Linked DNA regions of Homo sapiens: all the other regions are linked to region 4. Evidence: promoter capture Hi-C in 16 types of primary human blood cells and fetal thymus (Javierre and others, 2016). All regions are on one chromosome and are shown on one strand. The core of a region is centred on a gene start or on the middle of the fragment in contact, and the rest is flanking DNA. Distances in the headings are between cores, read along the strand shown. Region 1 overlaps SAC3D1 (SAC3 domain containing 1). Region 2 has its middle 7.0 kb from the start of BATF2. Region 3 has its middle 12 kb from the start of CDCA5. Region 4 holds the start of CDC42BPG (CDC42 binding protein kinase gamma).

The links. The method cuts DNA at HindIII sites, captures the fragments that hold promoters and counts their contacts. A CHiCAGO score of 5 or more calls a contact.
Region 1: a fragment that was not itself captured here is called in contact with the fragment with the promoter of CDC42BPG in region 4 in 4 of 17 cell types (M1 macrophages, erythroblasts, endothelial precursors and 1 more); the score reaches 7.3 in M1 macrophages.
Region 2: a fragment that was not itself captured here is called in contact with the fragment with the promoter of CDC42BPG in region 4 in 5 of 17 cell types (M0 macrophages, M2 macrophages, endothelial precursors and 2 more); the score reaches 9.5 in M0 macrophages.
Region 3: a contact is called between a fragment that was not itself captured here and the fragment with the promoter of CDC42BPG in region 4, in 8 of 17 cell types (endothelial precursors, M0 macrophages, M1 macrophages and 5 more). The highest score is 7.9, in endothelial precursors.

What each region holds. Positions count from the first base shown.
Region 1 is chr11:65,041,250-65,046,504 of GRCh38, forward strand. It overlaps SAC3D1 (SAC3 domain containing 1), which reads left to right. Exons shown (of 2, transcript NM_013299.4): 1 at 1-617; 2 at 2,976-3,579. The coding sequence starts at 44. The coding sequence ends at 3,478. It overlaps NAALADL1 (N-acetylated alpha-linked acidic dipeptidase like 1), which reads right to left. Exons shown (of 18, transcript NM_005468.3): 14 at 5,196-5,255; 15 at 4,940-5,113; 16 at 4,778-4,865; 17 at 4,573-4,665; 18 at 3,569-4,208. The coding sequence ends at 4,022. Among named protein-coding and RNA genes, the nearest start is that of SAC3D1, 2.7 kb to the left of the region's middle. RefSeq lists silencers at 1-559, 580-629 and an enhancer at 2,581-3,127. The HindIII fragment of the contact is 205 bases long and covers 3,904-4,108 here.
Region 2 is chr11:65,000,924-65,006,978 of GRCh38, forward strand. No RefSeq gene overlaps it. Among named protein-coding and RNA genes, the nearest start is that of BATF2, 7.0 kb to the left of the region's middle. RefSeq lists an enhancer at 5,517-6,055. The HindIII fragment of the contact is 2,934 bases long and covers 3,031-5,964 here.
Region 3 is chr11:65,069,194-65,075,129 of GRCh38, forward strand. It overlaps a transcript of CDCA5 not described here. Among named protein-coding and RNA genes, the nearest start is that of CDCA5, 12 kb to the right of the region's middle. The HindIII fragment of the contact is 9,772 bases long and covers 1-5,936 here.
Region 4 is chr11:64,840,889-64,846,704 of GRCh38, forward strand. CDC42BPG (CDC42 binding protein kinase gamma) reads right to left here and starts at 3,765. Exons shown (of 37, transcript NM_017525.3): 1 at 3,522-3,765; 2 at 925-1,016; 3 at 762-845. The coding sequence starts at 3,681. RefSeq lists enhancers at 803-1,615, 2,109-2,403, 2,428-3,240 and silencers at 3,455-3,504, 3,535-3,584, 3,595-3,944. The HindIII fragment of the contact is 2,728 bases long and covers 1,766-4,493 here.

The DNA of each region.
Region 1 (5,255 bases), core at 2,756-5,255, 200 kb after region 4:
TCCCCGGGATGCTGAGCGCCCACCGTCTCCCCGCAGCCCCCTCATGCCCGGCTGCGAGCTGCCCGTGGGCACCTGCCCGGACATGTGCCCGGCCGCCGAGCGCGCCCAGCGCGAAAGGGAGCACCGCCTGCACCGCTTGGAGGTGGTGCCGGGTTGCCGCCAGGACCCGCCCCGCGCGGATCCGCAGCGCGCGGTGAAGGAGTACAGCCGACCCGCCGCCGGCAAGCCCCGGCCCCCGCCCAGCCAGTTGCGTCCGCCCTCCGTGCTGCTGGCCACCGTGCGCTACCTGGCCGGTGAGGTGGCGGAGAGCGCCGACATCGCCCGCGCCGAGGTGGCCAGCTTCGTGGCAGACCGCTTGCGAGCTGTGCTCCTGGACCTGGCGCTGCAGGGAGCGGGCGACGCCGAGGCAGCTGTGGTGCTGGAGGCGGCGCTGGCCACGCTGCTGACCGTAGTGGCGCGGCTCGGGCCCGACGCGGCGCGGGGACCCGCGGACCCGGTGCTGCTGCAGGCCCAGGTGCAGGAGGGCTTCGGCTCGCTGCGGCGCTGCTACGCGCGGGGCGCCGGGCCGCACCCCCGCCAACCCGCCTTCCAGGGCCTCTTTCTGCTCTATAACCTGGGTGAGTCGGGATCCTGGCGGCTGGGCAGAGCGTGGGGACAGGAGCCCACCATGACAGTGGAGGTAGGGAAAGGAAGGATTAGCTTTAACATCTCACCATTAGCCCCCTCCCAGGACAGCACAAGATCCACCGAGCCCCGACGTGGGACCTCGGGCCCATCTCTGGGTCTTAGTTGTCTCAGGAATAAAAGTGGAGGGGGCAAGGGTGGAAAGGGAGAATTGGTCTAAATAGTGATTTTCAAACTTTTTTTTTTTTGAGTCTCGCTCTGTCGCCCAGGCTGGAGTGCAGTGGCGCGATCTCGGCTCACTGCAACCTCCGCCTCCCTGGGTCAAGCGATTCTTCTGCCTCAGCCTCCTGAGTAGCTGGGATCACAGGCGCGCGCCACCACACCCAGCTAATTTTTGTATTTAGTAGAGACGGGGGTTTCACCATGTTGGTCAGGCTGGTCTCGAACTCCTGACCTCGTGATCCGCCCACCTTGGCCTCACAAAGTGCTGGGATTACAGGCGTGAGCCACCGCGCCCGGCTGATTTTCAAACTCTTTTAACCTCCCCGCCCAGTCAGGGTTACCAAGCAAACAAGAACACATATGCCCACGAATATACCTGAGACAGAAGTTTAAGGCATTAGAGATACTTTCTATGGGCGATGCATTCCAATAAACTCTTATTATTTGTTTCTTTCTTTGTTTTTGAGACAGAGTCTAGCTCTGTCGCCCAGGCTGGAGTGCGGTGGCATGATCTTGCCTAACTGCAACCTCCGCCTCCCGGGTTCAGGCTATTCGCCTGCGTCAGCCTCCCAAAGAGCTGGGACTACAGGCGTGCACCACCACACCCGGCTAGTGTTTGGATATTTAGTAGAGACAGGCCAACACCATGTTGGCCATGCTGGTCTCGAACTCCTGACCTCAAAATGATAGCTCACCTCTGCCTCCCAAAGTGCTGGGATTACAGGCGTGAGTCACTGCACCCGGCCTGTTTGTGTTTTTTGAGACAGGGTCTCACTCTTGCCCAGGCTGGAGTACAGTGGCTTAATTATAGTTCACTGCAGCCTCAACCTCGTGGGCTCAAGGGATCCTTCTGCCTCAGCCTTCCAAGTAGCTGGGACCACAGATGTATGCAATCACACCCGGCTAACTTAAAAAAATTTTTTTTGTAGAGATGGGATCTCGCATGTTGCCACTCGAATTCCTGGGCTCAAGTGATCCTCCTGCCCCACCCTCCCAAGTAGCCGGGTGTGGCCATCATGCCCAGTGAATGGTTTATTTTTGTCCACACTGTTCCTCTGAAGAAGGCATGGTAATTATCCCTGGTCTAGTGGGGGAAGAAATCGAAGCCCAGGGTGGTGAGGTGACTTGCCTGTTGACACAGCACTGGTTAACAGTAGTAGTGGCAGGACCATGATTTTCTTTTCTTTTAATTTTTTAAAATTTATTTTTATATAGGGATTGGAGTCTTGCCATGTTGACCAGGTTGCTCTCAAACTCCTGGGCTAAAGTGATCCTACCGCGTTGGCCTCCCAAAGTGCTGGGATTACAGGCATGAGCCACTGTGCCCAAATAAGCTCTGTTCTGGCTGGGCCCTCTCTACTAAAAATGCAGAAATTAGCTGGGTGTGGTGGTGCATACCCGTAATCCCAGCTACTCAGGAGGCTGATGCAGGGGAATCACCTGAACCTGGGAGGTAGTGGAGATTGCAGTGAGCCAAGAGCCACTATACTTCAGCCTGGGTGACAAAGCAAGTCTGTCTCAAAAAAAAAAAAAAAAAAAAAAAAAAAAGGCCCTGCCCTATACAATTTTAACAAAATGCTGTTGACTTCACAACCTACTTATTGGTCAGAAGCCCCAGTTTACAAATGAGGGCCAAGGTTCCAGTGTCTGAGACTCTTCCAGAAGGGAAGCAAGGGCAGAGTCTCCTGAAGGAAGGGGCCTTCCCAGGTGGTCAGGGGAAAGTGGGGCAGAGTTGGCTTCCAAAACTGTGGGTACAGGGAAGCCAGGGTAGTGGGAAATCCAAGTCCGAAAACTTGGACTGGGGTCAGGCTCAACTACATACCCGCCCTAGGACACTCTCAGGCGAATCATTCAATTATCTGGGCCAGCTTCCCAAATCCGTAAACCCTGCCCACTTCAGTGTTGTAAGTAAGGATCTGGACTGCAGGAAGTCAAGAGCCTGAGGCCACTCATTCAAATATAGGTTGGGGAAGGAGCCAAAGGCTGGCCCTTAGAGGGGAGAGGGAAGTTGGGCTAGGCCTAGAGAAGGGGCGTGGTCGAGGAGAGAGGAAGGACAGGGTGTTGGGAGGGGAGATGAGCCTGATCCTGTAAGGACCAGGCGTCCTCATTCTGGCTTCCCGCTCTCACAGGCTCGGTGGAAGCCCTGCATGAGGTTCTACAGCTGCCTGCTGCCCTGCGCGCCTGCCCGCCCCTCCGCAAGGCCTTGGCGGTAGATGCTGCCTTCCGAGAGGGCAATGCTGCCCGCCTGTTCCGTCTGCTCCAGACCCTGCCCTACCTGCCAAGTTGCGCTGTGCAGTGCCATGTGGGCCATGCCCGCCGGGAAGCCCTGGCCCGCTTCGCTCGTGCCTTTAGCACCCCCAAGGGCCAGACCTTGCCTCTGGGCTTCATGGTCAACCTCTTGGCCCTGGATGGACTCAGGGAAGCACGGGACCTGTGCCAGGCCCACGGGCTGCCCTTGGACGGAGAGGAGAGAGTTGTGTTCCTGAGGGGTCGCTACGTGGAGGAAGGGCTACCGCCTGCCAGTACGTGCAAGGTGTTAGTGGAGAGCAAACTTCGAGGACGTACCCTGGAGGAGGTGGTCATGGCAGAGGAGGAAGATGAGGGCACGGACAGACCTGGGTCCCCAGCCTGAGGAGGGAGCGTGAGCCTCCCAGAGCCCCAGGACTGGGCCAGAGCACTTAGGTTTCTTTTTCCATGGTTTCCAGGTAATAAAAGGAACTTGTTTTGTTGGTACCAGTCACTAGATGTGATTTATTTGAGGGGCTGTTGTAGGGAGTTAGGATACACAGCATGCAGGGAGAGGAACGCAGACTAGCCAAGGCCTAAGGTACCCCAAGACTCACTTTCGCCACTGGTCCTTGGCCTTGATGACCTGAGTTGGCATCTGAGGTTGGCACGCATCCCATCTCCACCCACCTGCCACCAAGGGCAGTTGGTGGTTTTGCCATCCCATCCCTGTCCCCTGCTGCCCACCCTCTGCCACCTAAGCACCAGGATGAGGGTGAGTTGCATTAGGGCTTGCCACTCCCCTCAGGGACCTCAAGCTGTTGCCTGAGAAGCTTGAGAGGGTCCTGTGGTAGTGCCCTCTTCTGGCACCAAGGAAGACCAGGACATCTCAGGAAAGCAGGCAGGAGAGGGTTGGAGTAAAGGGAGGGCTGAAGAAAGAGGGCTGGGGTCAGAGGTCAGCCACAGGCCTCAGGGTGGCTGCCGCACCCTCCAGGGCTGTCACCACAATGCTGAGCTGTCTCTGGACCTCAGCCCAAGCTTCAGATCCAGAAGCTGTGTCCCTGGCCCTGGAGCAGGCATTGGATAGGCCCGGGAATGTGACTACGGAGCCCGTGCGAGGTGCCCAGAGCACATGGCTGACAAGAGAAATGGGACAGGATCAGGGTCAGTCAGTCAGGGGCCAGGAAAGAGAAGCCTGGGCCTAGAACTGGCTCAGCTCCTGTACGCAGCGAGGCAGAAAAGCACCCCCGTCCACTTGTCTCTGAAGGCCAGGGAGCTCTTACAGCAGTGGCGGTCGGGGGAGGAAATGTGGGTTCCAGTCCTAGCTCCCAGAGGGACCCTCAAGCAACTTTCCTCCCCTCCCTGAGCCTTACATTCCCATCTTCTTCAGGGGCTGGGTTGCACTCTAAAGGGCAGAGAAGCTGACCACCTCGTCTCAGGTGGGGAGCCATTGTCCGGCCCCACCTGGAGGCACCTCCCAGGACTCTGGGACAGACTCACCTGTAGTAGCGTTCCTCTGGGAAGGCTCTAGGGTTCAGAAAGGTCCGTTCCAAGAGCATCAACTGGTCATTGAGCATCCGGACCTGCAGGGGGCTGGTGGGGAGGCAGGAACTGCCAGTCACCCTGGAGCCAGCAGCCCAGCTACCAGCCTGGTATCCTGCCCTGGGTGCTGCCCTCCCAGCCCCTGCCCGCTGCCCTTGCTCACTCAGGGCTGCCCTTCTGCAGTGTTGATATGCGTTGGCCCAAGGCTGCAGCTTCTGCCTCAAACTTCTCCACTGCAGTCACCAGAGGCCCTGTGAGGAACAAGCAGTGGCTCAGTCATGGGGGTGCAGGGCTCCCCATACCTCAGGGTCAGGGCTGTGCATACCCAGGCTGATGCTGTGCTGCTCCAGCAGGGCCCCAAGATCTTGCTGGGCTGCCTGCAGGAAGCTGCGGAGTGTCTCACTGTAGTCACTGACTTTGAGGGGCAGGAAGAAGCTGTCACTGAGCCGGAGAATCACACTCCCCGCTGTCCGGGCCACAGCCTGATGGCTGCTGAAGCCTGCGGCAAGGTGACAAGGCCAGGGCTCAGTCTTCAGCCTCTCCTGTCCTGGTCTCAGGATGCCCCTTGTCTCCCTCCTCACCCGGGTCCAAAAACTTGTCCACATAGTCAAAGGTGTCAAAGGCTGTGTGGTAGGTGGGGT
Region 2 (6,055 bases), core at 3,248-5,747, 160 kb after region 4:
CTCTCTCTCTCTCTTTCTTTCTTTCTTTCTTTCTTTCTTTCTTTCTTTCGATGGAGTCTTGCTCTGTACCCAGGCTAAAGTGCAGTGGTGGGATCTCAGCTCACTGCAATCTCTGCCTCCTGGGTTCAAGCGATTCTCCTGGCTCAGCCTCCTAAGTAGCTGGGACTATAGGCAGGCACCACCACACCCAGCAAAATTTTTGTATTTTTAGCAGAGACGGGGTTTCTCCACATTGGCCAGGCTAGTCTCCAACTCCTGGCCTCAAGTGATCCACCTGCCTCGGCCTCCCAAAGTGCTGGGATTACAGGCGTAAGCCACCGCACCCAGCCTTTTTTTTTTTTTTTTGAGACAGGATTTTGCTCTTGTCACCCAGGCTGGAGTACAGTGGCGCGATCTTGCCTCACTGCAAACTCCGCCTCCTGGGTTCAAGCAATTATCCTGCCTCAGCCTCCTGAGTAGCTGGGATTACAGATATGCAACACCACGCCCAGCTAATTTTTGTATTTTTAGTAGAGACAGGGTTTCACCATGTTGGCCAGGCTGTTCTTGAACTCCTGACCTCATGATCCTCCCGCCTCAGCCTCCCAAAATGCTGGGATTACATGCATCAGCCACTGCACCCGGCCGTAAGTGAAGTATTCTCCATGCAGCTGCTCATGAAACCTTCACCAGGAGGCAGCAGATATCTGTGTTAGAGGAGTCTCTCTCCCTTATTAGATGATCTAAGTTAAGTTACTACCAAGTCTAGAGTGCACCAGCTTCAGACACGAGGCCCAAACGATGTCATCAGGAGTCAAACTCTTACTCTATTTGCTGTCCTCCAGGCTGGCTACATTCTCAGGCAGAGCCCGGTCATGGGAGTAGGATGGCCACCAGAAACACCAGCTTCACAGCAACCCAGGGCAGGCACATCCCCAGCCCCTCCCACTTTCCCAGTAGCTCCAACAAAAGTCCCAGGCCTGGCCTTCCTTGGTCTGGCTTGGGTCATGTGCCTATTCCTGACATCAATCACTGTGACCAGGTGAGATTGGCAAGGGCAGGGCCTCAAGCCCATCCTGGAGCCCAGGGTTGGGGTGAGCCCCATCTAAACCATAAGGACTAGGGGTGAAGAAGGGGCAGTTCCCCAGGGCATCGGGGTACTGTTGGCAAAAGAAGGGTGAGTAGATGCCAGCTGATCCCACAACCTCAGCTCAGCTTCCGACATGAGGAAGCTGCCACTCAGCAGCACGTCCCGGGCTCTGGTCACCTCCCCAGGTAGATGGACTCCAATTCCCCCGTATCTCTGATACTAAGCCCGGCACTCTTCCTGTCCATTATTTCACACTGCTCAAGATGCGGAGGAAGGTCCCAGCAGTCAAGGACCCGTGGACAGGAAAGCAAGGGCTTGCCAAAGGATGATTCCAGATGTACTGAATGCTGGGCAGGGACAGGGGAAGCCACATCATGGAGACTCCCCAGGGCGTGGGGAGAGAAGAACAGACTTTTGCTTTCAGCACATTGTGCATACCACATTTCAGCGCTCATTAAAGATGGAGTCTGGGCAGGGCACGGTGGCTCACACCTGTAATCCCAGGACTTCGGGAGGCTGAGGTTGGCAAATTAAGAGTTCGAGACCAGCCTGGCCTACCTGGTGAAACCCTGTCTCTACTAAAAATACAAAAATTAGCCAGGCATGGTGGCACACACCTGTATTCCCAGCTACTCAGGAGGTTGAGGCAGGAGATTCGCTGAACCTGGGAGGCGGAAGTTGCAGTGAGCCGAGATTGCGCCATTGCACTCCAGCCTGGACAACAGAGAGATACTCTGTGTCAAAAAATAAAAATGAAAAAAGTTGGAGTCTGCAACTAGCTGGGCCTCCCAGGAACTAAGTGACTTCCCCTGGGCTCTATGGGGCTCTTCACTGCCCGGTCCTCGGTGCACCTTCCCACGCTCACTCCCCTCCCCAACCCCCAGTCCTGCTGGCCCTTTGCCACCTCCAATGCCTTGAGCTTCTGAGTCTCTGCCATTCCTTTAATGTACTTACACATCTTTCTGGGAAGCGGTCTGGAACTTCTGGAAATGGGAAGGCAGTATAAATTATAAACAGCTGAGCTCTGAAGAGTCTGAGAGCATCCCAGGGCTTTGTTTGTTTGCAAATGGCAGTTGCAACCATAGCTCCTAGATTTTCCCAGGCGGTTCAAGCCCCGGAAAGACCAGGGTTCAAATCCTCGCTCTGTCCTGCTACTGTGTGAGCTTGGACAAGGCCCTTGGTTTCTCTGGGTTCTCATTGTCCTTGTCTGTAAAATGGTGATAATTCCCTCACTTTGCCAGGGCTGCCATGATGACTGAAACAAAGTATGGAAAGTGGTCACCAGTGACCTCAGAAAGGATAAGTCCCTCGCTCTTGTCCTAGTTACCCCTAAAGACGGGAGGGCCTCATGTGGAGGCTGGTGCCGGGAACTGGCCAGCCGAGCTCACGGAGCAAGGGACTGGAGGGCTGGCTGGTGTGCAGTGGGGTGGGAAATGAAGCCCAACCCAGACTAGCTAGCGACTCAAAATGCAACAGACAAGGCAGTGCTGCCCTTGGCAGAACCAGCACCAAGGATAGCACCAAGGATAGCACCAAGGGTGCAGGAGAGCTTTTGCCATGCAAGTCAGCAGTCAGTCACAGCCAGAGGACTCCAGAGATTCTCCAGTTTGTTTTGCAACTGGGGAAACTGAGGCCTGGCAAGAAGAGGGGAACTGGCCAAGTACAAGGAGGCGGCAGAAACAGGCAGACCCAGGTTCTGCTGCAGCCTCCATGTTCTTTTCTCATCTTATTCCTCGCTGATCCAGAAAACATCTCGGGGCCTGGAGTGGAAATAACAGGGGCACAGGACACCCTTAGACGGCAGGGAGCATTTGTACCTGTTGCTGGTCTGCAGGAGCAGGACTGATTCCCAGAGGCCCCAGACCAGGGTCCCAGGAGCTGGAAAGGGGGCCCCATCTAGAAGAAAGTCTGGGGATGGGGTCCTCTGGAGAACTGAGTTCACCTGCAGCTCACGTTCACCAAGCTTCGAGGTCTCAGACAGCCTTGTGCCCTCTCTGGACCTGTTTCCTCATGTGTAAAATGAAGGAACTTAAGCAGGTGCCCCGTGGCTCACACCTATAATCCCAGCATTTTGGGAAGCCAAGGCAGGAGGATTACTTGAGCCCAGGAGTTCGAGACCAACCTGGGCAACACAGCAAGACCCCATCTCTACCAAACAAACAAACAAACAAACAAACCCAAAAACGAAAACAAAAATTAGCTGGGCATGGTGGCATGAGCCTGTAGTACCAGCTACTCAGGAGGCTGAGGTGGGAGGATCACTTGAGCCTGGGAGGCAGAGGTTGCAGTGAACTGAGATCACATCACTGCACTCCAGCCTGGGCAACAGAGTGAGACCCTGTCTCAAAATAAATAAAATAAAATGAAGGAACTTGACAATGACTTCTCAGGGTCCTTCTTGCTGTGCTGGAGGCCGGGGCCTGCCTGTGCCTCTTGGGAGGCCTTTTTCTAAACAAGGGACTAGCAATGAACCGAGGCTGGTGCTGCAGACAGAGACCTGGGTGCCTCCCCCAGCACTGCCATCTGCCTTCCACTACAGGGCTCAGTCTTCCCTTCCCACCACCCGTCAGGAAGCAGTACCTATGAGATGCCCTTTTTTTTTTGAGACAGAGTCTCGCTCTGTTGCCCTGGCTGGAGTGCAGTGGCGCAATCTCAGCTCACTGTAACCCCTGTCTCCCGAGTTCAAGCAATTCTTCTGCCTCAGCCTCCCGAGTAGCTAGGATTACAGGTGCCCAGCACCATGCCCTGCACCACACCCAGCTAGTTTTTGTATTTTTAGTAGAGATGGGGTTTCGCCATGTTGGTCAGGGTGGTCTCAAACTCCTGACCTCAGGTAATCCACCTGCCTCAGCTTCCCAAAGTGCTGGGATTACAGGCATGAGCCACCGTGCCCAGCCAAGATGCCTTTTTTGATTTGGGCCTGGTGTGGGAGTTGGAATCTGTGGGGATCTCAGAGAGCGGGAGCCGGGTCTGCCTCAGTTTGGGGGGCTGAGAAACCTGATGGTAAGAACAAGGCTGGTGAAGCCCTGCTGCTTCCTGTCCGTGTGAGCAGCTAGAAAGCAATTCACAAACCTCTATCCTTATTTCTATCACGCAGCAACTATTTCCTGAGCATCTCTTATGTGGCAGGCCCTGCTCTAGGTGCTGGGAGACATCTGTTTTTTAAAAAAAGATCCAAATCCTGCCCTTGTGAAATTTCCATCCTAGGGAGGAGCAGGGAGACGATAATTACATTAAGTGAATTATCTAGTCTGGTGGGAGTCCACAGGTACCAAGGGGAAAAGAGAGCTAGGTAAGGGCCATGGGGAGTGTGGGGTAGGGGATTTCACATGTAAATAGCGGGGTCAGACTGAGCCTCGTTGAGATATTTGAACAAAAAAAAATTGTTTCTGACATTGGACTTTTGAGCAAAGAATTAAAGACGAGAGAGCCGTGACAGTGAGGTACCGGCTGGGGTCGGGGGGCAGAGTGGTGTAGTGGACTCCTGGGACTGGCAGGGTCCAGGGAGCAAGAGATTGGGGTGGAGGCCACGGGCCATTCATGCAGGGGCTCATAGGCCAGTGAGAACCTTGGGCTTTTACTCTGAAAGATACAGAGAGCACCAGAGAGCTCTGAGCAGAGGAGAACATGATCTGATGCATAGGTTAAAAGGGTCCCTGGTCGGGCTTGGTGGCTCACACCTGTAATCCCAGCACTTTGGGAGGCCGAGGCAGAAGGATCACTTGAGGTCAGGAGTTCGAGACCAGCCTGGCCAACATGATGAAAACCCACCTCTGTAAAAAATACAAAAATTAGCCGGACGTAGTGGTGCATGCTTGGAAGGCTGAGGTGGGAGGATCACTTGAACCCAGGAGGTAGTGGCTGCAGTGAGCCGAGATTGCACCACTGAGCAAGACTCTGTCTCAAAATAAATAAATAGGCTGGGCATGGTAGCTCACACCTGTAATCCCAGCACTTTGGGAGGCAGATGTGAGCAGATCACCAGAGGTCAGGAGTTCGAGACCAGCCTGGCCAACATGGCGAAACCCTGTCTCTACTAAAAACACAAAAATTAGCTGGGTATGGTGGTGGATGCCTGTAATCCCAGCTACTCGGGAGGCTGAGGCAGAAGAATCGCTTGAACCCAGAAGGCAGAGGTTGCAGTGAGTCGAGATCACGCCACTGCACTCCAGCCTAGGTGACAGAGTGAGATTCCATCTCAAAATAATAATAATAATGATAACAAATAAAAATAAAAAATAAAAAGGTTGGCCAGGCGCAGTGGCTCATGCCTGTAATCCCAGCACTTTGGGAGGCCGAGGTAGGTGGATCACCTGAGGTCAGGAATTCGAGACCAGCCTGGCCAACATGATGAAACCCCATCTCTACTAAAAATACAAAAATTAGCCAGACATGGTGGCTCATGCCTGTAGTCCCAGCTACTCTGGAAGCTGCGGCACAAGAATCATTTGAACCCAAGAGGCGGAGGTTGCAGTGAGCCAAGATCACGTCACTGCACTCCAGCCTGGGTGACAGAGTAAGACTCTGTCTCAATAAATAAATAATTAATTAATTAAATAAAAAAGGGTCCCTGTGCCTTGGAGCAGGGGAGCAGGGAAGCCGGTCAGGAGGCTGCTGCAGCGATCCAGGTGAGTGGGTGGGGGGGTCTGTCATGCGGAGAGAAGAGTGGTACCTGCCTCTTAGGTTCCGGAGTGAGGGCACAGCAGGACACGGGCAACCAGGGGCAGCAGCTGCGCTCCTGCGTTCATTCACCAGGCCTGGCCCCATGGAGGCAAGAAGCATCTAGCACAGCTTTGCTCCTGAGGGGCCACAGGCAACAGGTGAGGTGTACGAGCACATGGCTGTTGGAAGATCTCAGATTTTCAAGTCCTTTCTACCTCCTAAGGTTCTGGAAAAGCTTGCAGATGTCATGTGCCTTTGCGTGGTGAATAACACCTCCTTTTGTCATCTGGAGTTGGAGAGGATGCCTCTGCTGCCTCCCACACA
Region 3 (5,936 bases), core at 740-3,239, 230 kb after region 4:
TGCATCACTGCACTCCAGCCTGGGCTTCAGAGCGAGACTCTCAAAAAAAAAAAAAAAAAAAAAGCTGAAGTTAATAGAATTGTGGCTATTTTTCACCCCGGTATTTTTCAGAATCTTGTGCATCTACTGGCCAAGTAACCACAGACATGGTCCTTCTTCACACTGAGTCCACCTGCGCCTCTAGATCCCCATGGACTTGTGGCAGGGGGCTTGTGGCCTGGGCTTGTGGCTGTGTTATATTGTACCTTTCTAGGCAGCCTAAAATTACACAATTCCTGACCACGTGACATAAACCGACAGCTCTGCAGAGGGCCCCGTAACCCTGGAAAGTCCCAGAGCTCCAGCGTGGTATGGCTGCTGGAGAATAGGTAGCTCTGTCACCAGGAGAACCTGGCTGCGTATAACAAGATCCACAGAACGATGGAGAGTCATGCCTCTGAGAACCTCACTTTGGAAACGGCTTAAAGAAACAACTCCAAATAAAAGTAATTCACATGGACGACCACAGTAGCTGATTTACACCATGAAGAAAAACTGGAAGGGGCCTAAAAGGCCCAAATATAAGAAGTGGTAAGGAAACAAAGACTTCTTCACATGGTAGGATACAATTCACTCATGCGCTTACTGGTCCCTGTAAACATTGCCTGTGGCGTAGGCCTTGGGAACATATAGATGGACACAACCTGGTTCTGCGCAGAAGTTTCCGGAAGATGAGGGAGGCCTCAGGTTTGCAGCTGACCACAGTGCGGGGGGATGAGCCACACAGAGGTTTGTACAGCGAGCCCTGGCTGCAAGAGGAGGGAGCCATGCATTCTGCTTCGGAGCTCCAGAGAGACTGCACACAGGATGTGCCGCCGGGTCTCAAACAAGGACGCAGGGGAGACCAGAAGAGGGAATGGTGTAAGCAAGAGCCGTGGGGTCCTGCGAAGGGCCCAAGACAGGGCCTGGGCTGTAGCCCACAGGGGACGAGGAGGCATAGGGATCTTTGTGTGTCTGTTATGTGGGCTGTTTGGCCATAGTTCAGAGGGTGAGTGGAAGGCGTAGACACTGGGGCCAGGATGCCAAGGGCCCTGGAAGTGAGGAAGAGAGGCAAGCCACCAACTGCTGCATGTGACAAGTGTCTAAACTCTGTTAATCCTGGAGAAGGTGTGCATGAGACCCTGTCACACCACAAAAGTGGGTCTTAACGGTGGTATGGGCTGGGTACCAGTGTACCCACGTAGGGTTGCCAAATAAAACACAGAATGCCAGGTTAAATTGGGATCTCAGATAAACGATGAATTTTTTTTTGAGACTTTATTTACTTTTGAGACAGGGTCTCACTTTGTCGCCCAGGCTGGAGTGCAGTGGCACCCTCATGGCTCACTGCAGCCTCGACTTCCCAGGCTCAGATGATTCTTCCACTTCAGCCTCCTGAGTAGCTACAACTGCAGGCCTGGCACCACACCCAGCTAATTTGTGTATTTTTTGTAGAGACAGGGTTTCACCATGTTGCCCAGACTGGTCTCGAACTCCTGGGCTCAAGTGATTCTCCTGCCTCCTCCTCTCCCAAAGTGCTGGGATTTCAGGCATAAGCCACTGAACCCAGGCAGGTTGAGAATTTCTTCTCCAAAATGCCTATCTAGAAGTGTTTTGGATTTCAGATTTCTTAGGATTTTGGAATATTAGCATTATCTGAAAATCCAGAATCCAAAATGCTACAGTGAATGTCAGGGCAGTGCTCACAGTTTGGGATTTTGGATTTTCTTTTCTTTTTTTTTTTTTTTGAGACAGAGTCTCGCTCTGTTGCCCAGGCTGGAGTGCAGTGGTGCAATCTTGGCTCACTGCAAGCTCTGCCTCCCAGGTTCACGCCATTCTCCTGCCTCAGCCTCCCGAGTAGCTGGGACTACAGGTGCCCGCCACCACACCCGGCTAATTTTTTGTATTTTTTAGTAGAGACGGGGTTTCACCGTGTTAGCCAGGATGGTCTCGATCTCCTGACCTCATGATCTGCCCGCCTTGGCCTCCCAAAGTGCTGAGATTATAGGTGTGAGCCACCGTGCTCGGCCGGGATTTTGGATTTTCAACCCACATATGCATACCCCATATGTGGCATGGAACATACTTGTACTAGAAAACTATCTATTATTTCTCTGATTTGGGAAACAGTTATTCCTTTTTTTTTTTTTTCCTGGGGACAGTCTCGCTTTGTTGCCCAGGCTGGAGTGTAGTGGTGCGATCTCGGATCACTGCAACCTCTGCCTTCCATGTTCAGGCAATTCTCCTGCCTCAGCCTCCTGAGTAGCTAATTTTTGTATTTTTAGTAGAGACGGGGTTTCACCATGTTGGTCAGGCTGGTCTCGAACCCCTAACCTGGTGATCCGCCTGCCTCGGCCTCCCAAAGTGCTGGGATTGCAGGCAAGGGCACTCTTACTCTTTAAAAATTGTGTTGTTTATCTAAGATTCAGGCTTAAGTGGGCATCTTGTATTTTTTGCTAAATCTAGCAACTCTAACACTATGGCCACATGTTGGTGCCCATCAGAGGACACTGGGAGGCATGAAAAGCTCCACGGTTACCAGTTGGTACGTGAGGAGGATGAGCAGATAGACAGACAGACAGGACTGGGGTCCTCTCAGGGTCCCACCAGCCAAGCACAGACAGATGCTTAATTCAGACTTGGACAGAAGATAGCTCAGGACCTGGATTTCAGTCCTGCTCTGCTGCTCATAGGTGGGGCAGCTGCAGGAAATCGGGCTCAGCCTCCTAGCCTGTGAAATGGGTATTCAACTCCACAAATATTGACTGAGCCCTAACTTTGTTGAAGGCCCTTCCCTGAATGTTGAGAAGGTACAAAAATGAATCTCCTCCTTTGAGGGGTTAATCACAGGCTGGGTAAAATGCTACTAGCCATCAGTGATGAGGAACTCTGCTGGCTGCTTTGCATATGACATCAACCTCCTGACCAACTCCGTTAGAGAGATGGAATTGGCCTCACTTTTCAGAAGAGAAAACCATGGCTCAAGAAGAGTCTCAGATGTGGGTGGACTGATACCCAAGCAGGTGGCTGTCAGGGAGCCTGCCAACCTGTCAGCCACACTGTGGAGAGGGGAAGGCAGCCTGGTCTAGGCCCATGTGTTGGGAGAACCACCAGGCCTGAGCCAAAGCCTCATCTGAAAGGGTGGTGAGCTACCGGGCTGAGGACCCAGGCGAGGAGGGAGGGGTCCATAGGCTGTGTGGGGAACTGCCCTGTGGAGAGGGAGGGTGAAGTCCACTCTCCAAGAAATGGGGACAGGTGTGAGCCATGGGGCTGGCTTCAGACCTCACATGCACACTGGTGGGACTAGAATTTGTGCTGTGGGAGGCTCATGACTGAGGCAGGGTGCCAGGTGCCATCACTCCTGACTCCACCTGTGCCCCTCCTACCAGGCACTCAGAGGCTCTCTGAAGCCCCTGTCCCCAGCTCCCACTGGAGGGGCACACCTGCCCAGGCTGGTGGGAAACCACCACATCCACTTACTCCATGATGTGCCTGGACACTGGGGGGACAGAGACAAATACAACCTTGCCTCCAGCCTGAGCTGGAGTTTACACAGCTACTGTGTAAACGTGTGTGCAGAGCAGACAGAATGGAGCTTGAAGGTGCTATGATGGAGGTCTGTGTGGACTTCTGAGACTTAAAAAGGGAGGGAATGGTCAGTTCTACTTGAAAATTGTTCATTGAGCACTTACCATGCACCAAGTGCTTTACTTGTATTATTTCATTCTTTTTTTTTTTTTTTTTTTTTTTGAGATGGAGTTTCTCTCTTTCACCCAGGCTGGAGTGAAGTGGCATGATCTTGGCTCACTGCAACCTCCACCCGCCAGGGTTCAAGTGATTCTCCTGCCTCAGCCTCCCGAGTAGCTGGGATTACAGGTGCCCGCCACCATGCCCGGCTAATTTTTGTATTTTTAGTAGAGACGAGGTTTCACCATCTTGGCCAGGCTGGTCTTGAACTCCTGACCTCAAGTAATCCAACCACCTCAGCCTCCCAAAGTGCTGGGATTACAGGTGTGAGCCACCGCGCCCGGCCGACTATCTCATTTTTAAACACTGTGGCATAGGTATTATTATTGTCCTCATTTTACTGTTAAGGAAACTGAGGCACATCAGAGTCTAATTATTATCATTTGCCTGGGATCACACAGCTAGAAGCTGGCAGAGCCAGGATTCAAACCCAGTTGGATTGCAGAACCTGTGCTCTTTGCTTTCACCAGGGTGGGGCAGGTGGGGAGGAAAGGCTGAGCAGGGGTGACGCGTGAGCCAGACTTAATGACGCGGGGCTCCCCAGGTGACGCAGGAGTGGGGAAAGACACGAGAGGCAGAGAGCAAAGGTTCAGAGGCAGGGACCTCCAAGCAGCTCGCAGCCTGCGGTGGGTCTGTGGGCTGAAGCCTGGACACCAGCCTCGGCCTGGAGTCCTCATGAGCCCCACTAAGGTGTCAGGAGCCCCCTAGACCAGCCAGGGTTCTGGGGTGCAAACAGGAAACAATGTTGGCTGATTTGAGCAAAAAGGAGTTTATTGGGAGGATGCTGGGGAGTCACAGAACTCACGGGAAGAAGAGACTTCAAAGGGCAGGCACTGTAGGGCGCCGACTGCCAGAACTAGGACAGGGGAGGGCCTGCAGATGGACAAACACGCATTCCCCACACCAGACACTGCTGGACAGGCGGTGCCTTCATCCCTCCTCACACCCATCACTCAAGGTGGAGAATCTGATCAGTTTAGGTCCTGGTTGCCGGGATCAGGGAGAGCAAGCATCTGGGATATTCACTCCCACTGAGTGGCTGGGGTCCTGCAGACAGCACATGCCTGGAGGCTGAGACGCTACTGGGCAGCCAGGCACCAGCGACCATTCATTCCACTGCTGCACGGAGCATGGGAAGTCAGCAGAGGTTTCTGTTTCGGCTGGAGTGCAGTGGCACAATATCGGCTCACTGCAACTTCCACCTCCTGGGTTCAAGCCATTCTCCTGCCTCAGCCACCCAAGTAGCTGGGATTACAGGCACCCGCCACCACGCCCACCTAATTTTTCTATTGTTAGTAGAGATGGGGTTTCACCATGTTGGCCAGGCTGGTCTTGAACTCCTGACCTCAAGTGACCCACCAACCTTGGCCTCCCAAAATGCTGGGATTACAAGTGTGAGCCACCGCGCCTGGCCCAATTTCCTCCTTTTTAAGGCTGAATAATATTCCACTGTATTGATAGGTCACACTTTATCCATTCAGCTGCTGGTAGACATTTGTGTTGTTTCCAGCTTTTTGGTTATTGTTGAATAATGCTGCTAGGAACTTGGTGTACAAATCTATTCCAATGCCTGCTTTCAACTTTCTCTGGTCTTATTACACTCAGGTGTGAAATTGTATTAAAAGGTTTTAAAGGCCAGGCATGGTGACACGTGCCTGTAGTCTCAGCTACTTGGGCAGCTGAGGTGGAAGGATGGCTTGAGTCTGGGAAGTGGAGGTTGCAGTGAGCCCAGATCACAATACTGCAGTCCAGCCTGGGCGACGGAGCCAGACCTTGTCTCAAAAAAAAAAAAAAAAAAAAAAAAAAATTGGCAGGGGTTTTGGCTGGGCATGGTGGCTCACACCTCTAATCCCAGCACTTTAGGAGGCCAAGGAGGGTGGATCACCTGAGGTCGGGAGTTCAAGACCAGTCTGACCAACATGGAGAAACCCCGTCTCTTACTAAAAATACAAAATTAGCTGGGCGTGGTGGCACATGCCTGTAATTCCAGCTACTCAGGAGGCTGAGGCAGGAGAATCGCTTGAACTCGGGAGGTGGAGGTTGTGGTGAGCCGAGATCGTGCCATTGCACTCCAGCCTGGGTGACAAGAGTGAAACTCCGTCTCAAAAAAAAAAAAAAAAAAAAGGGTTTTAAGGAGGGGAGAAATAGGCCCGGCGTGCCAGCCACGGTGA
Region 4 (5,816 bases), core at 2,515-5,014:
CTGTAATCCCAGCACTTTGGGAGGCCAAGGCAGGCAGATCACTTGAGATCAAGAGTTGGAGACCAGCCTGGCCAATGTGGTGAAACTCCATCTCTACTAAAAATACAAGAAACTTAGCTGGGTGTCGTGGCACACGCCTGTAATCCCAGCTACTTGGGAGGCTGAGGCATGAGAATCCCTTGCACCCAGGAGGTGGAGGTTGCAGTGAGCCGAGATCACGCCACCGCACTCCAGCCTGGGTGACAGAGTGAGACTCTATCTTAAAAAAAAAAGTTTATTGTAGGCTGGGCACGGTGGTTCACGCCTGTAATCCCAGCACTTCGGGAGGCCAAGGCAGAAGGATCATCTGAGGTCAGGAGTTCGAGACCAGCCTGTCCAACATAGCAAAACCTCATCTCTACTAAAAATACAAAAATTAGCTGGGTGTGGTGGCAGGTGCCTGTAATCCCAGCTACTCGGGAGGCTGAGGCAGGAGAATTACTTGAACTGGGAGGCGGAGGTTGCAGTGAGCCAAGATAGCACCGTTGAACTCCAGCCTAGTTGACAGAGCAAGATTCCGTCTCAAAAAAAAAAAAAAAATTTAAAAAATTAAATAAAGGGTTTATTGTGAGAAAGATAACAAATCAGTGGCTGCTGAGGGTGGCACCCTTTGCCTGGTCTGCAGCCTTGCCCGCCCCCCCCGCGCCATAGGCCCTGGCAGCATACACCTCCCCCACACCCATTTGTAGGGTGCCCAAGGGCCCCCCAGACTCCACACTGACCTCAGCCCTCTTCAGCATCTCCCACTTGTGCAGCATTTTCATGGCAAAAATCTGCCCAGTGTCCCTCTGCCTCACCACGGTGACCTAAGGCCACAGGGAGGACCGGGGTGAGCCCAGCCCGGTGTGAACACCTCCCCCCACCTACCCCAGGCCCTTTGCTCACCTCCCCAAAGGCTCCTCGGCCGATCACCTTCAAGATCTCAAAGTCATCTCTCTGCAGACGCAGTTCTTTCACCTTTGATACGAAGGGGCTGGCTGAGGGGACACAGGGCGGGACTCAGAGTGCAGGGAGGGAGGGCTCCATTCCCCCTCTCACCTTGGGCAAGCCAGGAGCTGCCGCTCCTGTGAGCCCAGGCAGGGATGACCTCCCCAGGGACAGCCTCGGGCCAAGGGGTTGTGGCAGGAACTGGTGCTCCTTTGGCCATGATCAGGAAGTGCGGAAGGTCAGAGGCCGGGCTCAGCTGACCGCCTGGTCCCTGGACCTCCCTGGACCCCTGGCCCCAGACTCTAGGCAGCCTCCATCCCAGGGGCTGATGGGACTTGTAGTCCTGCCCAGTCTGCGGCCTGACTCTGCTTGGCCAGGTCACCCTGGGGACCATGGGGACACCATTCCTACCCCCACCTCACAGTTCTTGGCCCCCTCACAGGTTCAGGCCAGGGCCTGTCTTAGGAAACTGGACGGGTGACATTCCTTATCCCCAGAGAGGCTTCTCTCCCATTCAGGAGCTGTGGGCCTGGGTCCCGGGACCCTGTAGGCATAGAGGTGCCTGGTTGGGGGTGAGGCCTGCAGCCCCTAGGGCAGGGAGGACAGGCTCTATGCTTCCCACGTGGGGCCCCTCAGGCTGGAGGCATGGATGCCAGTCTGCCAAGGTGCTGAGACTCACAAACAGGACAAAGATGCCTTTCCCTGGTGCTAGCACTAGCCCCTGAAGGCGTGAGTGCTCAGGATGCCTCCAGGCCTGACCGGCTCTCTCACTCCCAGCCCTGCCTCCCTGTCTGGACGAAGCTTTTGTCTGGTCAAGAACGTCCTCTTTCCTCACATCCCAGATACCTCCAGGAAGGGCAACTCCAGCCACTCCCAGGCACTTTCCAGGCCTGGATTAGCCCCAGGTTTTGGGAAGGAATTGGGTCTTAGGGAGGCAGGAGTGATCAGTCAGGATGGGGGGCAGCTGTGGTCTGGCGCCCTGCCTCAGTTTCCCCCTGCCAGGAGGTAAACTCCCTGCCAGCTGGGCGGGTCTGTGGGTGGGACAGAGAGCTGTTCCACAGGTTTATCAGGCAGAAGCCCGCAGCGGGGGCGGGGTGGAAACCTCATTACAGAAATTCATTGTCTCTTTCCCAGGTCTGTGTGTGGAGCTGGGGAGGAGCAGCCCCGGGCCTCCCCGTGGGAGTTGAAGCCAGCACCATAGGGACCCACCCGCCAGAAGAGGGCCGAAGCCCAGGCCCACAGGCAGGAGGATCCAGGCCCCTGGACAGGCTGCCTAATCCTCTGGCCTCCCACAGGGCATGGGGGCTCCGGGCAGGAGCAGGGACAAGTAGAGACAAGCAGGAGAGGAATGAGTCACAGCCCTTTGAGTTACCTTGGGAGATTGTCAACAGAGGGCCCCCATGCCGGGGTCCCAGGCAGAGGTGCTGGAGGCAGTCAGGGAGGAGCACACATGTGTGTGCAAACACACACACGTGTGTGGGTGTCATGGGGGGGGTGACAACAACACAGGCAGACAGGCATAGCACGGAGGCATACCAGGGAGACAGGCACAGAGGCAGGGGCCTCTGACTGCCTCGCCCTGGATGGAAGGGTTGGGGCTAGGGGACAACTCCCTGGCACATCTAGGTGGCAGCCTCCCCCTCTACCCCAGGCCTTGTGCCTTCCCAGAGCTCAGGAGTGCCAGGAACGCTAGTTGCCCACTGGGCAAACACCTGCCTCACCCCGCCCTGGCCAGGCCCCCGTGCCTTTTCCCCATGGCCCGGCAGGGTGTGACCAGGGAACCCTCCAGCTGGCGCCAGTGCCCACAGTGGGTTCAGGGTCACCCCGGGCCAGCCACTCCCAATGACTCAGATGAGTCTACCAGGAAAGGTACAGACCCATCTCCAGCTAGGCCCCCCTCCCCGGCCCCGGCGCCACAGCCCCCAAGGAGCTTGGCCAGCAGCCTGCACAGGCCAAGGGTTGGAGATCGGTTCCTGAGTCCAGGCTGCAGTGGTCTTGTACCCAGGGAGCTGGGGGTGTGTGTGTTGGTGGGGGGAAGGTCTGCAAGTGTGCGATACCTACAGATCTGTGTGTTTTGCAGTGCCAATGCGGTCGGGGTGGTCTGCAGCGCTCCCTGGGTCTCTCCATGAGTTGTGTGTCTCAATGCATCCGAGAGGAAGGAGAAACAGAGCCCGTGTATCAGTGGGTGACATGCATGAGGGTCTGTGTGTGTCCTGCGTCAGGTGTGGCCTGTAAGCAAGGAAATCTGTAAGGGACTCTAGGCGGTGCACTGGGTACATGCGTCTGCGGTCGATACCTGAGCACAAGTTGGTATGTGTGTGCATGTGTCGGGGTCTGTGAGAGGGAGAGAGCGTGTGTGAGAATTGGAGTGAGGGTGAGGTGTGCAGGCGAGTGTGCGGGCCGCGGGGGTCCGGTGGTACGCGTCAGGGCCACTGCAGGGAGTCTGCGAGGGAAGCCCGTGGGGGTGCGGGTCCCTGCGGGAAAGTCTGCGGGTGCGGGGGTCTCGGCGCGATATCCCTAGGCCCGCCCCCGCTCCGTGCCGCCCCGCCACTCACCCCAGCTCAGGAACTGCGCCACGCTGCGCTCCCGCCGTAGGGGGCCGCTGCTGAGCTCGTGGTGCAGCGCCAGCAGCAGATCTAGGAGGCCGTCGAGCCCCGGGCAGCCGCCGGCCTCGCCCCGCGCCAGCTGCTCCAGCGCGCGCAGCCGCCGCTCCATGGCTGCGGCCGGAGCCTCGCTGCTCGGCTACAGTCTGGCCGCCCGCATGCCCGCCTGTCGGGCCGTCCGTCCGCCCAACCGTCTGAGGCTCTGTCCGCGCGTCCTCCCCCGCCCCTCTCCCGCCCTCCCCGCTGTCACCTTCCTCCGCCGCCGCCAGCGCGCCCTCACCTGGGCGCCGCGCCCCGCCCCCCGACGGACGGGCAGGTGCGCGCCGGCCAATGGGAGCCGCGGCTAGAGGTGAAGGTGGGGGCGGAGGCGCGCGGGGGCGGGCCCAACTCCCGGCCAGGAAGTGCGGGGGCGGGCCGGGGAGAACAACTGACTTCTGCGCGGGGCGCGGTGGGGTTCTGCGGGGTCGGAAAGACTCCCCAGATCCCCGCGCGGCCCCAGACCCAGACTTACCTGGGCCCTCCCTGGGCCCTGACCCAGGAGGCGCGGAGCACTGCAACTTCTCTCGCCCCCTGGGTCGCAGCCGCCTTGCCCTTGGCTAAGAGAGAGGGGCTAGGGACGCCCGCGGCCCCGGAGCCGGATGGGAATTGTAGTTCGCTCTCTCCATGGTTTGCCCGCGCTTGGCACCCATCGCCCCCCCGCCCCCGCCCAAAAAAAAGTTTCTGAATCTTACTTTGATTGTATCATTAGAGTTGATGTGGGAGACAGGAAGTTGGGGTAGGGATGGTCACGCCCATTTGGCAGATGGACACACTGAGGCTTGGGAAGGAGGAAGGCGAATTGAGGGGCTGAGGACAAGGTGGCTCTTAAGTTAGACCCTGGGGTGGAGGTGGAGCTGGGCTGGTACCAACACCACAGGCGTTTTAAGCTTCAGTAGGAGCAGGGCCTGAGGTCTGACCTGGAACGTGAAGGGCAAGGAGAGGTCTGAGATAGGCTGGAGGAGGTTGGGGAGGGGAGGGGCTGGCTCTGTCCAGTGGTATTTCTGATTTCTGTCCAGCTGGGATGGACCAGGCACCATGAGGAGAGATCAAAGGGTGGGACATATTGGTGGCTTCAGACAACACTTTTTTTTTTTTTTTTTTGAGACAGGGTCTCTCTGTCACCCATGCTGGAGTGCAGTGATGCAATCATAACTCACTGCAGCCTTGACCTCTTAGGCTCCTGCCTCAGCCTCTTGAGTAGCTGGGATTACAGGCAGATGCCACCACACCCAGCTGATTTTTTATTTTACTTTTTGGAGTCAAGGGTTATTGTTATGTTGACCAGGCTGGTCTCGAACTCCTGGGCTCAGGTAATCCTCCCACCTTGGCCTCCCGGAGTTCTGGGATTACAGACATGGGCAACTACACCCGGCCTAGACAACACTTCTTTCTCTTTTTTGAGACAGGGTCTCACTCTGTCCCCTAGGCTGGAGTGCAGTGGTGCAATCGTAGCTCACCACAGCCTCAACCTCCTGGGTTCAAGTGATCCTCCCACCTCAGCCTCCCGAATAGCTGAGACTACAGGCTCACACCACTAGGCCAGGCTGATGTTTTGTTTTTTGAGATGGTGTCTCACGCTGTCACCCAGGCCAGAGTGCAGTGGCACGATCTCGGCTCACTGCAACCTCTGCCTCCCAGGTTCAAGAGAGTCTCCTGCCTCAGCCTCCCAAGTAGCTGGGATTATAGGCATGTGCCACCACACCCAGCTAATTTTTGTATTTTTAGTAGAGATAGGGTTTTGCCATGTTGGCCAGGCTGATCTCAAACTCCTGACTTCAGGTGATCCTTCTGCCTCGGCCTCCCAAAGTGCTGGGATTACATGCGTGAGTCACTGGGCCCAGCCATGTTTGTATTTTTTATAGAGATGGGGTTTCGCCATGTTGCCTAGGCTGATCTCAAACTCCTGGACTCAAGTGATCTGCCTGCCTCAGCCTCCCAAAGCGCTGGGATTACAGGCTGTAGCCACTGGCCAACACATTATTTCATTAAAAGACCTGTTTAGGGGTTTGCCTCTCCTCTCGTACTGGGACCTCGCTGAGATGGGGGCAGGATCAGGTTGAGGGAGGAGGTGTTCCATGAATGTTTGAAGCAAACAGGGTGTTTCTCCCCACGAAGGGTTTTTCATGTGATTATTTGTTTATTTATTTATTTATTTTAAAGAGACAGGGTTGCACTATATTGCCACGTTGGCCAAGCTGGTCTGACCTC